Regions from separate parts of the Homo sapiens genome. Here region 2 is linked to region 1. The links are contacts of gene promoters, found by promoter capture Hi-C in blood cells and fetal thymus (Javierre and others, 2016). All regions are on one chromosome and are shown on one strand. The core of a region is centred on a gene start or on the middle of the fragment in contact, and the rest is flanking DNA. Distances in the headings are between cores, read along the strand shown. Region 1 holds the start of IFI16 (interferon gamma inducible protein 16). Region 2 holds the start of FCRL2 (Fc receptor like 2).

Evidence for each region. The method cuts DNA at HindIII sites, captures the fragments that hold promoters and counts their contacts. A CHiCAGO score of 5 or more calls a contact.
Region 2: a contact is called between the fragment with the promoter of FCRL2 here and a fragment that was not itself captured in region 1, in 1 of 17 cell types (total B cells). The highest score is 6.6, in total B cells.

What each region holds. Positions count from the first base shown.
Region 1 is chr1:159,009,017-159,015,166 of GRCh38, reverse strand. It overlaps IFI16 (interferon gamma inducible protein 16), which reads right to left and starts at 5,260. Exons shown (of 12, transcript NM_001376587.1): 1 at 5,006-5,260; 2 at 222-506. The coding sequence starts at 486. LOC124904432 (a long non-coding RNA gene) reads left to right here and starts at 1,117. Exons shown (of 2, transcript XR_007066671.1): 1 at 1,117-1,600; 2 at 1,687-2,660. RefSeq lists enhancers at 1-150, 5,324-5,403 and a silencer at 2,442-2,551. The HindIII fragment of the contact is 5,786 bases long and covers 2,008-6,150 here.
Region 2 is chr1:157,772,840-157,779,049 of GRCh38, reverse strand. It overlaps FCRL2 (Fc receptor like 2), which reads left to right and starts at 1,918. Exons shown (of 12, transcript NM_030764.4): 1 at 1,918-2,007; 2 at 3,255-3,275. The coding sequence starts at 1,977. The HindIII fragment of the contact is 5,936 bases long and covers 1-3,747 here.

The DNA of each region.
Region 1 (6,150 bases), core at 3,651-6,150:
ACTGATCCCAAATATACATTCTGAAATACTTCAATCTACACCAGTAATGGAATGCACTAAGTTGTCAACTTGTTGGCCTCTGAAGTACCAACATTGTCTCAGCTGTTGAGTCACAAACTGGGGAAAACACATCTCAAGTATGTCCGAGGTGGGGCTCTAATCAATGTTGGGGAGGGTTTGGGGATGGTTGCAGGGAGTGGGTGTTCCCTCTTCCCAATTACCTTTTAACTTTTCTTTTTTAAGAGTTTCAGCCAGGTCTTCAAGCGTTGGTATATCTTCGAAAATTTTTATTAGTTTGCCCAAACCAGCATCACCTCGGAACTTTTCTTCCATCAAGTCAGCAATCTGAATTTTGTCATACTCTTCTCTCATTTTTAAATTAAGTTTTAAATCGTTGCTCAGTAAGGACTTAACCATTCTAAAATGATAATCATTGATGACCTCTAATCCTTTTAGTAGAACAATGTTCTTGTATTTTTTTCCCATCTTTACAGACATAAGTGAGCCTACAAGAGAAAATGGTATATACAGTGTTACACATGTATACAGACAATTTAAAAGATGTATGCCTATGTGAGTGAGTGGCCCATATGAAAGAGTTGTTCATGAATATGTGTGATAAAGAAGGACTCAACGACCAAATGTGTTACTGTAGAAATTGAGTGAAGAACTGCTGGGTTAGGAATGTCTAAGAAATTATTCCCATTGAATGAGAATAGTTGAGTTGGGTCCAGTTGTTAGAGGGAGGTCTGAGAACAAGCAATTGCCTCAGTGTTAAGAGTATGAGCTCTGCAGTGTCAAAGCCCTTGGTTCCTCTTCTTATCCTTTACTGGGGCTGAAGCCTATTCCCCAAATCCTGCCTGTTGTTTCTTAAATCTTCCCACACCCAGTATGACTGGAGCGGCCTAGGTGTAAATGGGCTGCAGCCTCCCACCTTATATGAATAACTTTCTGCTACAGCGCTACAGTTTCATGCTGTGGCACTGACCCTATTCTCCTTGACTCTTCCCTAGTTGGCTTTCATTAGCATCCTCCCTTCTTTGGTGCTAGACCATGGCTTCTGTTCTCTGTACCCATAAAACCATAACTTTGCTGAAAATCTGCATGCTTTCTAGTGCAGCATCACAGTATTTATTCACTGAAATGATTTTATTGGTTGTTTTATTTTTCTTCTTTCAGACTTGATTTGTCTAATTATTTCTTTTCGCACAATCAGTTTTCTCTCGATAAGCCACATTTATATTCCACTGAAATCCTTCAATATTTCTCCTTTTTCTTCCCCAAAATTCCTTGCTTCCTATACTGTCTCAGAAAGTGTTGAATAAGCTGCATCTTTTTTACTTCTAGTACCTTTGTACTCCTTGTATCTATGCTTCACAAAGATGCCGGACACCTTGTGTCTTCATGCCTCATGACTTTGCTAGTTCCTTCTTACTGCCTGGAAAGCCATTCCCACATTTCTTTCTTTGACTACTTCCCATACAACCTTAAGACTCAACTGAGGCTTTGTCTCATGGTAGATTTCAGAGTCTCCCTATGGACAGAGTGTCACTGCTCTTGACCTCTTAACACCTGTACACTTCCATGATGACAGTGCAAGGTATGGATTCCAAAACTTTTAAATTAATGAATTTTTTAATTTTAGGAATGATGTCTTTGTGTATAACCAAGATATCTAAATTTCAGGGGCTATTAATTGGGCCAGGCGCAGTGGCTCACGCCTGTAATTCCAGCATGTTGGGAGGCCGAGGTGGTCGAATCACAAGTTCCGGAGATCAAAAGCATCCTGGCTAACACAGTGAGACCTCGTTTCCACTAAAAATACCAAAAATTAGCCAGGTGTGGTGGCAAGCGCTTGCAGTCCCAGCTACTCGGGAGGCTGAGGCAGGAGAATTGCTTGAACCCAGGAGACGGAGGTTGCAGTGAGCGGAGATCGTGCCACTACACTCCAGCCTGGGTGACAGAGTGAGACTCCGTCAAAAAAAAAAAAAAAAAAAAAAAAAAGCTTCCTTCTTACGAGAACATGAGGATCCTTGGACTGAAAAGGTCCAGAGAATGAAGGGAAAATCTATACAAAAACACATTATAGTGAAACTGAAGAATATAATGAACAAAAATACTCTGTAAGCCTTCGGTAATGAGGAATAGATCACCTACAAAGATTCAAGAATCAAATTGAAAGTGAATCTCTATATCAAAACTGCCTGAAGCAGGACAATGGAGTTATTTTTATATAATGTTGGTCCAAAGTTCCATATCAATTGCAAAACCAAAAAAAATTTTCAATGGAAAGTTTTGACTTATTTTGTGAGTGTGCTAGAAACAATAAGTTCGTCTTCAAACTTTCCTGTTCTTTCCTGTTCTGTAAACAACCCTTCCTTCCTTTGCCGCCCCAGACATGCCTTCCCGCCTAATTGGTACAGGACAGTGTCTTCCTTCCCGCCTAATTACCCCTATAGAATTTAAAGCAGTAGCCAATCCGGTCAGCTTAGAATGTGCATTGTGACTGACGCAGGCAGCACCCTTCTGTAGAAGCAAATATGCTTTGCTGAGAAATTTCCTGTTTAAGTGCTGGTTTTTCTTTGTGGCACTGAGCACTTGTTTCCAACAAGTGTGACAGCACAATTTATTTGCAAAATAAAACCAGATTTGGGATGACAGTAGGCTATGTATAATCTTTATTTCACTGAAATGTGAACACTCACATGTTTTGTTTTGCAATATTAGTGCTTTTGATTTTGGAGTAATTATTTATATCCCAATGGAGTTTCTAGTAAGACACTATTTAGAATATATACACTAAATAGCCTTTCTGAAGCCTCCAGATTCTTAACTTCAAAATGTATCTAGCTCCACAGCACAGAAGAGGTGCTTTCATCTTGTCTTAAGGGAAAATATAATTTTACATTTTAGAGTTTTAATTTAGGCAAAATGATATTTAAATAGAAGAGTCTCAAAAACTATTTTGTGATACTCAGGGCCTCAGTCTTTTTGCAAGACAAAGACTCATACCACAAGAAAACATCTATTGAAAATAATATTTAATAGGAAAACATGAATAAAATTAAAAATTCTGCCAGCCAAAAGATAAGAAGAGTGAAAAATAAACTTTTTTAGGTGTTCCTAATGTCTTACAAAGAAAACCCTGATCAAATATAAGAGAAACAGAAATTACAACAGCATGGTAAAGGGAGGGAAGAAAAAGAACATGACAATTCACTAAAGCAATTGTCTTAGATAGTGAGATGATATAGAAGTGTCATAAATTGAAGTAAAGACAGCAGATTGTTAATTACCAGCATATACCTAAAAGGTCTGACCTGTTAAGTGACAACTTTCATCAAATTTGATTTAAGAAATCTACATATATATTGTTAACAAAAGGTGAAAAAAATTGTTAAAAATTATCTTGCAAGGAATAACTAAAGAAAGCCAGTTTATCTATGTTTGTGTAATTTTAAATATACCTTAAGCCCAAAAGTAACTTCAGATACCACATGATAAAAGTTTCAACTCCTAGAAAATTATGTTTTAGTTATGAATTTATCTAATTTATCTAATGATATTATTTATTATTTTATAGTGCTTCATGGTACTATAATTAGTATATATTTCTCTTCATATACACACATGTACAGACATCACTACACACATATATGTGTGTACCTGTTTGTATACATGATTATATATACATATATTTGTGTGTGAATGTATATTATATATACACATAACATGTATGTGATTGTGAGAGCACTACAAAGAAAAAAAATTTTTTTTTTTTTTTGAGACAGAGCCTTGCTCTGTCACCCAGGCTGGAGTGTAGTGGCACAGTCTCGGCTCACTGCAACCTCTGCCTCCTGGTTCAAGCGATTCTCCTGCCTCAGTCTCCTGAGTAGCTGGGATTACAGGCACACATGACCATACCCGGCTAATTATTGTATTTTTAATAGAGACAGGGTTTCGCCATGCTGGCCAGGCTGGTCTGGAACTCCTGACGTCAAGTGATCCGCTCGCCTTGGTCTCCCCCAAAGTACTGGGATTACAGGCATGAACCTCTGTGCCCGGCCAAAAAAGCAAACTTTATAATAGGAGATTTCAGTTTATGCTTCAATTACTAAATGAACAAGGTGAAAAAATCTGTAATGATATAATAAATTTGAACAACGTAATTAACAACATTTATCTAATAAAATTCTGAAAACAACATTTAAGAATCTCACATTCCATTTAAGCACACATGAAATATTGTACCAGGCTATAGAAAACATCTTTTAAAAATTTGAAAAGTAAACAATAGTAACCTTTTCCTAACTGCCTTCCCCTCCACTCCCCTATACCTTGCCACAAGGAAAAAAAAAATCATTAACTTTCAGGAGGGCAGAGAGTAATTCCAAAATGATTGAAATTCTGCCGCTAGCACCCGGTGCAGAATGGAGCTAAAGTAAAGGATCAATATACTTATGAAAATATTAAGACACCATGTGCTTGAGTAACTGTGTTTGTGAAACTGAAAAAAATTTTCTACTCTGTGTACATTTGTTCTTATGTTTTGTAAAATTGGGATGATGTCATATAATACATCTCTATGCTCAGATATGTTTTTTACTTAATATTCTTTCATGATACTTTTTTCATGTCACTATCTTGAGAACCCACCACAGCTACCGAGTTTCCAACACTTCTTCCAGCCAAAATAACAGAAGCCCTCTTCTAAGTACCAACTTATGCCAGTATACACTCGGATAATTAATTTTAAAATCTGCAACGGTCAAAATGCATTTTCTCTTGTTCAGTCCTCAGTTGTGGTGGAATAGAAGATGCCTGTTATCTTCCTAAGTAAATGAAGGATTCATATCAAGCAACTCAGTTTTCACTTTTCTGAATACTCAGCCCTACTCCCATCATCCCATGACCCTGAATAACCAATACTGATTGTCCCCTTGTGATTCTGGGGACTTCAAGGAAGGAACAAGATCATATTTACAAAATCAGGAACAGTACTCACCTCACTGGAAATTTTTTCAACAGTAGTCCAGATCTTGAGATCTTCAGAAATGCAGGAATCAATGCTTATTTGTGTGAGGGGGGAGATAAATCAGTAAAGTTCCCAGAAACGGAACCGCAGGATGTTGTAATCTCCAGAAACGCTAAGAAAATGAAGTATCTGCAAAGATAACAAGGAAAAAAGGCCTTGGTTGAGTCACTTAGTTAGCTGACTAGTGCTGGCTTGCTCCTATTCTGCTATTGCCCCAGAGAAAATGGAGTAGGAAACAATGTGGAGACTCCTCCCACCAGTGTTTTTAGCTTTCGTTTCTGTTAGTCAGAGAAAATGAACAGTTTCCTGGCAAGGGCTGGAGCATGTGGTGAGGGGAAATGGGGGATGAGAAATTACTTTAATGGGTACAGTTAACATTTTTCGGGTGATGTGCACACTGAAATCTCTGACTTCACCAATATGGCATATATCCATGTAACGAAATTACACTTGTATCTCATAAATGTATATAAACACAAATAAGTTTTTTTTCTTACAAAATTCGATAGCTGAAAGGAGTTCCAACATTAGAACTTTCTTACCCAGCAGACTTACATGTGAGTCATTAGAGACTTATATTCCCTTAAATGATGCTCAAATATAAGAGAAGCAACATGGCTTCTTCTCCCCTCCTTTCCTGTGCACAGAGTGGCAGTGGCAGGAGGAGATCTTGGTAGGAGCATCTATTGCTACCAATACTTTACTGCATCTCCTGGTTGGGGAAATGTCTGCTATGAAATCGCTATTTGTTTAAATACTACCTGAAGTATTCATCCAATTATTAATAACTGACAAGCCTGGGCTTTCCAGATCAGAAAGTCATTATGAATATGTAAATCCTTCCTTAAATTTATATGAAGGAGTTTAACACTAGCTGTCCTCTTGACCATGACTAGGTTACTTTACCTCAATGATTAGATTCACGAATGCTCAGATTTTCTGCATTATTCCTGGATAAACAAACGTGGATAGTGGACTCTCAACATGACAGCATCGAAGACTTGAAAATCCTGGAAAATGCACTGAACTTCCGGTAGTGTGAGGAGTCTGTTTAATCCTCTGCTCAGCAGTGTATTTTTCTCTGTTAAGGACAGTGGGTGCCCTTTAGCGTGCTG
Region 2 (6,210 bases), core at 669-3,168, 1.2 Mb after region 1:
ATTGTCTCAGACACTTTTTATTGGAGAGCAGGGGATAATGTGCAGCAGATAAAGTGCACTCTGCAGCCACTTTTTTCTTTTCTTTTCTTTTCTTTTTTTTTTTTGAGACGGAGTCTTGCTCTGTCACCCAAGCTGGAGTGCAGTGGCACGATCTCGGCTCACTGCAAGCTCTGCCTCCCGGGTTTGTACCATTCTCCTGCCTCAGCCTCCCAAACAGCTGGGACTACAGGCACCTGCCACCACGCCCGGCTAATTTTTTGTATTTTTAGTTGAGATGGGGTTTCACCGTGTTAGCCAGGATGGTCTTGATCTCCTGACCTCGTGATCCGCCCGCCTCAGCCTCCCAAAGTGCTGAGATTACAGGCGTGAGCCACCGCACCCAGCCCACTTTTTTCTTAATCATATATCCTAGACATCTTATCTTGCTATTAAATATTATTCCACAGAATTATTTTAATGGCTGTTTGGTTTTCCACAGCATTTGACACATAACTTATTTTTAACACACATCTCTCCTTGTGATATATTTTTAGTATTTTCTTTTTACATTATTATAAGCAAGGCTTTAATGACCATCACATATAAATATTAGCCTTTCTCAAAGTAAAACTATGATAATAGTGAGAATAAAATGTTAAGTATCCAATTGTTAAAAATTCAATGTTAAGTATTCAGGTAAATGTTAAGTACCTGAACAGGTAACATTGAGTCTATGAATATTTTCAGTCAGTCCCTCATTTATAAGCACCTGTGATTTTTTGGTTTAGAGTTTCATCCTGCATAAGGTTCACTGATGAGACAACATCTACTGGGACTACATCTAATCAAAGTGAGCATGATAATAGGTGTTCACATAACACGCGCTTTGCTTTGTGTGAGATAACTGTATTAGGATCAGCCTGGGGTACAAAAAGCAATGCAGATTAGAAATAGGCAATGTTGTGATTACAGATTAGAAAGATGGCAATGTTTTCAGCAATATAGTGCAAGTGTTTTGAAGTTTAGTAAAATCTCATTCTAGAAAGTCATCGAATGACTACGAAAAATTTTACTTAAGAAATATGAGCTATTGAAACAATGGCCTTATTATTTTATGAACCTTGAGAAGCAATATATCAAGATAATAGGGCACAATGTTTAAGAGCCAGACTGTGACACTGGGCTGCCTGGGTTTGAATCCCAGATCTGTTACTACTAGAAATTGATTAAGCTGATCTTGGTCATTTTACTGGCTGCTATCATCTGAATGTTTGTGTCCTGGCAAAATTCTTATGTTGATACTTAATCCTCAATGCAATAGTAATAAAAGGTACCCACCTTTTATTACATGACCTTTTAGGGGTCATGAGTGTGGAACTCTTATGAAAAGGATTAGTCTCCTTGTAAAAGAGGCTTGAGGGAGCTTGTTTGCTCCTTCCATCATGTGAAGACACATAGAGGACACCATCTATGAGAAACAGGCCCTCATCAGACACTGAATCTACTGGTGCCTTGATCTTAAACTTCCCAGCCTCTTGAACTATGAGTGATAAATTTATGTTGTTTATAAATTTCTCAGTCTAAGGTATTCTTTATAGCAGCCCCAATGGACTAAGACACTTACCTTTACTAGTGCCTCAATTTCCTTATTCATGTGAAAGGGGATAGTGCCAATTCAGAAACTTGCTGAAGGTAATAAATAACTCTGTAAGCATGAGGCACTTAGAACTGTGTCTGACTCATTGCAACCCATATGTAAATGCTAGGTATCATAATGAGGGTCAAGTTACAAAATTTCTCTGGCATTGAGAGGATCAGCTATAATTGTTTTAGCCCTTCCAGGACAAAGATAATGGTTAAACATAGTGGCACTATTCTACTTCCTTTTTTGCTAATTATACAAAACCTATTCTGAAAACCACATTTCATCGCCTGCTCAGAGTCTCCAGTTGGTGACCAAGAGTACATCTCTTTTCAAATAGCTGGATTAGGTCCTCATGCTGCTGTGGTCATTGCTGGTCATCTTTGGTGAGTTCAATAATTTGACTGAGAAGTGAGGTGGCAGCTGAATGAGGTCTACTGCTCCCAAAAGGTTGGAGGTTTTATTGGAGCCCAGGGACTGGTGGGGATGCTCAGGTCCTGCCTGCAGCTTGGGCTTCAAAGGCAGATGCAAAGAAGTAGGCTGAGGACAGTGAATTTGCAGCACATCCATTAAGCATTAAGCACAATGCTTAATGTTCAAGGTGGACCACTTTTCCATTTGCTGGTCATGAATTGCTATTTTGATATCTTAGATCTCATTGAGTAATATAATGTTCTCATAGTAAAATGTTCATAATATTAGCATTTAGCAATGCCCTTCTCCTCCATGAACACCGATTATTCAATTGTTATCTATAAGATTTGGGTTCAGCAGATGCATTGAGACCCTTTGCTAATATTCCTCTGTTTAATCGTGGACAATGAGGGAGATGACAGCTGCTGCTAGAAAATAAGATTCCTGGGTGAGTGCAGTGGCTCATACCTGTAATCCTAGCACTTTGGGAGTCCAAGGCTGGTGGATCACTTGAGGTCAGAGTTCGAGACCACCCCGGCCAACATGGTGAAACCTCATCTCTACTAAAAATACAAAAATTAGCCAGGCGTGGTGGTGGGCACCTGTAATTCCAGCTACTCGGGAAGCTGAGGCAGGAGAATTGCTTGAACCCGGGAGGTGGAGGTTGTGGTGAGCCAAGATCGCACCATTGTACTCCAGCCTGGGTGAGAGAGTAAATAAGATCCCTTTCTCTATGCTGTGTAGGCACTAAATAAATATTTGTTATTGGAATACAAAGGGCTCTAACGTGAAATATGGCCATAGGAAAGAGACTGATTTGTTGATTTCTTGGAACTCTCACAATGTATGTTTCCTGATGAGCCCTTTGTGATCGTGTTGTCATGTCTATCTACCACTTGAAAAGTCAGAGTGTGAGATAGAGTGGTGGGGATGGTGGAAGGAAAATGAAATCAAGGAGAGTCACTAAATATCCAACATGGGTATTCTCGACAATCCCTTTAGTCAAGCATTGGGTTTGCAACTTGCCTTTTGACTACAATGAATGACAGTTAGATGTGTGCTCGAGGGAGATTGAATTGTTAGTAATAAGAGATTAGGGAAATAGAAAAGAAAGGGAAAATGGAAAGAAGTTTTTGAGCAATTTACCAGAGTAATATAAATTTATAAATTATGAGGGCAAATGCTGTGTGCTAATCTCTGGCTTTTGATCTCCTCACAGATGCAGTCACTGAACAGGCAGGTGAGTCCTCCTTGTCTTTGTTGTTCTTGGTCTCTGGCATATCAGTCACCCCACTACCCCAGGATTCTATAGAGGTGGCTCTGGAAAGCCTGTGAAGATGTCCTAATATTACTGCCCTCTAGGCTGACATGTTCTGAGGTCACGCAGCCTGTTTCCAACACCACTTGCATGTCTGGGTGACCAGGTACCACCTAGCCTTCTCAAGACCCCACATGCTTGCCTCTTCCTTAAAAGCCTGGCTTTAAGAAGGGCAATAACATGCAGATTGAAGAAAAGAACAATTTGGAGAGAATTGTTTTCCTGCCCATAGGACTGTAATGCCTCTTTATTGTCTGGCTGAATGCTGAATGTTTTTACAGCTCTGAAAACAGCTATTTATAGAGGAATGTGTCAGAACTACAAACTTCTGCAGGGTCAGAATAAACATGTGTCCTCATTGCTTCTCTAGCTCTAGCTCAGGAATCAGCAAGCTTTTCCTGTAAAAGGCAAGAGAGTAAATAGGCTAAGCTTTTCAGGTGTGTGCCGTAACTACTCAATGCCATTGCTGTGGTAGCAGGAAAACAACCATAGACCATATGTAAACGAATGAGGATGGCTGTGTTCCAATAACATTTTATTTACCAAAACAGTGTTGGCCAGCTCACAGGCCATAATTTGCCAACCCGTGCTCTAGATTTAGTATTTAGTTTTGATTTTTTAAAAATGCATGTATTACTGTTCTAATCATAAAGAGTGAAATAAAGCTAATTTTATTTCACTCTTTCTGAGTTAAATCTGTGCTCAGTGAAGGAAGTCAATGGGAAAAATATTTTATTCTATATACAGAATCTTCACATGAGCCAAGACAAAATCTAAAGAAAGGGAGACTTGTTCCCTTGCCCATTGAATGCTGGCTACCAAGTGGAAGGGGCTCTTTGGGCTCTAAGGAACAGTGTGGGAAAAGCAGATCCTGCTGTCACCTTGAATGGAACAAGAGTGTCCAGGGAGACATTCAGGGGTCCTACCTGGAACTTGCTCAGGAGCAAGTCTGGTCTCTTGCATTCATTCTGTCCCACATAAGGTCCAGGAGTCCCACCCTGTGATACCCATCACTCCACTGTCTGTCTGGATGGAAATTAGAGGAAACCTCGATCAATATTCAGGAGGTTTCTGACCATTAGTGGAATCATGCCAAGACAGCAGGCTCCCTGAAGTGAATCACCTACGACCATTCAGAGAACAGGGCAACAGCCACTTCATTCTCTTTCTTTTCCTTTAGCAAGAGTTTCTCAGAAAACTGAGATGTTCTTCAGAAGTTTGAGATCTTTTCTTTTTAAAAAGAGTAAGAGAGAACTTAGTTCAGCATGATGTACTGGAAAGAGCAGGACTTATATAGCCAGAAAGACCAAATTGAAATCATGGCTTTGCTATATACCTGCTATGTAGGCTGGGCAGTCACTTGGCCTCTGAACCCCAGTCTTGGCTCTGGGGAAAAGTTTCTGGCCTGTTGAGAATTACAATCCCCTGCAAGGTTTGAAAATGCTATTCAGCAGAGCAGCTGAAAAGGTCTTTCTGTCCCCATCCATTGCCTCAATGCAGTCTTCCACCCCATTTCCTCTTTTCAGCCCCACCCATACACTGCACTCACCACCTGGGACTTTGCCCTTGCAAAGCTTTGAATACCATTTGCTTTTAGTTTTTGCTGTTGCTCTGGTAAAGATATTTTTCACTGAAATTCTTGTGAAAAAACATTATTCAGTCCTGTACATCTTGCTCTGAGTTAAATCTTTGTGCTCCTATTTATTTGCTCTGCCTAAGAACTTCTCGTTCACAACCTACCCTTCTCCCTGCCCCCTACCACTGTCCCTCCACTGCAGTTCTCCTCTATACCCTCTGGGGGTCAGCATGATTCTATTGGGCACCTCTGCAGGTAGAGCCACTCTCAGCCAGTTTCTGGAGGATGTGGAACTCCCTGAGGATGAACAAGTCAGCTTTGGGACTTGTTGCCCTCCCCTTCTAGGGCCTCTGACTCCTTGTACCCTGCTAATGGTGCATACAGATTAGAACTCTTGAGGTTGCACCACAATGACAGCCAGTGTAGAGCCAGCACACTTCTGCTGAGGCCTTCAAACTGCCAGGTGGTTGGCATTGGAGCCATCACAGCCATGCTAGAAGCAAGTGGATACAAACTGTCACACAAACCCATTATGACTCTTTGGGGTTCCCTGATATGAAACTATGAACCAACTTATGTCTACCCTATAGGTAGGACATCACTCTCAGAGGGTTTGACTTCAAGTCACCTTCATTTATTCAGTATTCCCGAGTCCACCCCATCTCACAGACCTGAAACCCATTATTTTGGTTGCTCTTGAAGTGCAGTTATGATGACCTCTTATTCCTCCTCAGCCATCATTAGCTTCTGCTACAAAGACATCCCCCATCAAGACTGTGAGATTTGTGGCTCACTGAGTGGTCCATAAATGCCAGCACCATTGTGTGCTTCTCTCACAGAATCCTTAAGACTGCCTGATGAGAGGCAAATGCTCTTTGTTGTTCCATTTCTCAGTTGAGAAACTGTAACTGAACACAGGTCCAGCTGCTCACTGCTTGCAAAGTCCAATTAACAAGAGAGAGATCTGGTAGAAAGAAAGTGACTTTTTAATTCCAAAACATAGCTGAGGGGAAGTAGTACAGGCTTCTGCCTTGAGGGTACCACTTCTACTTCTCGGGCAGAAGGCAAGGGCTTTTAAAGGGGGACTTGGTGTGAACAGCATGCAGGGGAGGGAGCGAGGTGGTGCAAGTCTACATGACTTGCTTTGGATGTCATCTGAAGTGATTTGGCTTGGCACCAGTGTGGGCAGAACTAGGTTGTAAATTGAGGCACTCTTCTGGTGAGAGAGAGTTCTAGAGGCACCTGGTTTGCTTTGAGTTTCTGTCTCTGGAACCTCTTAAG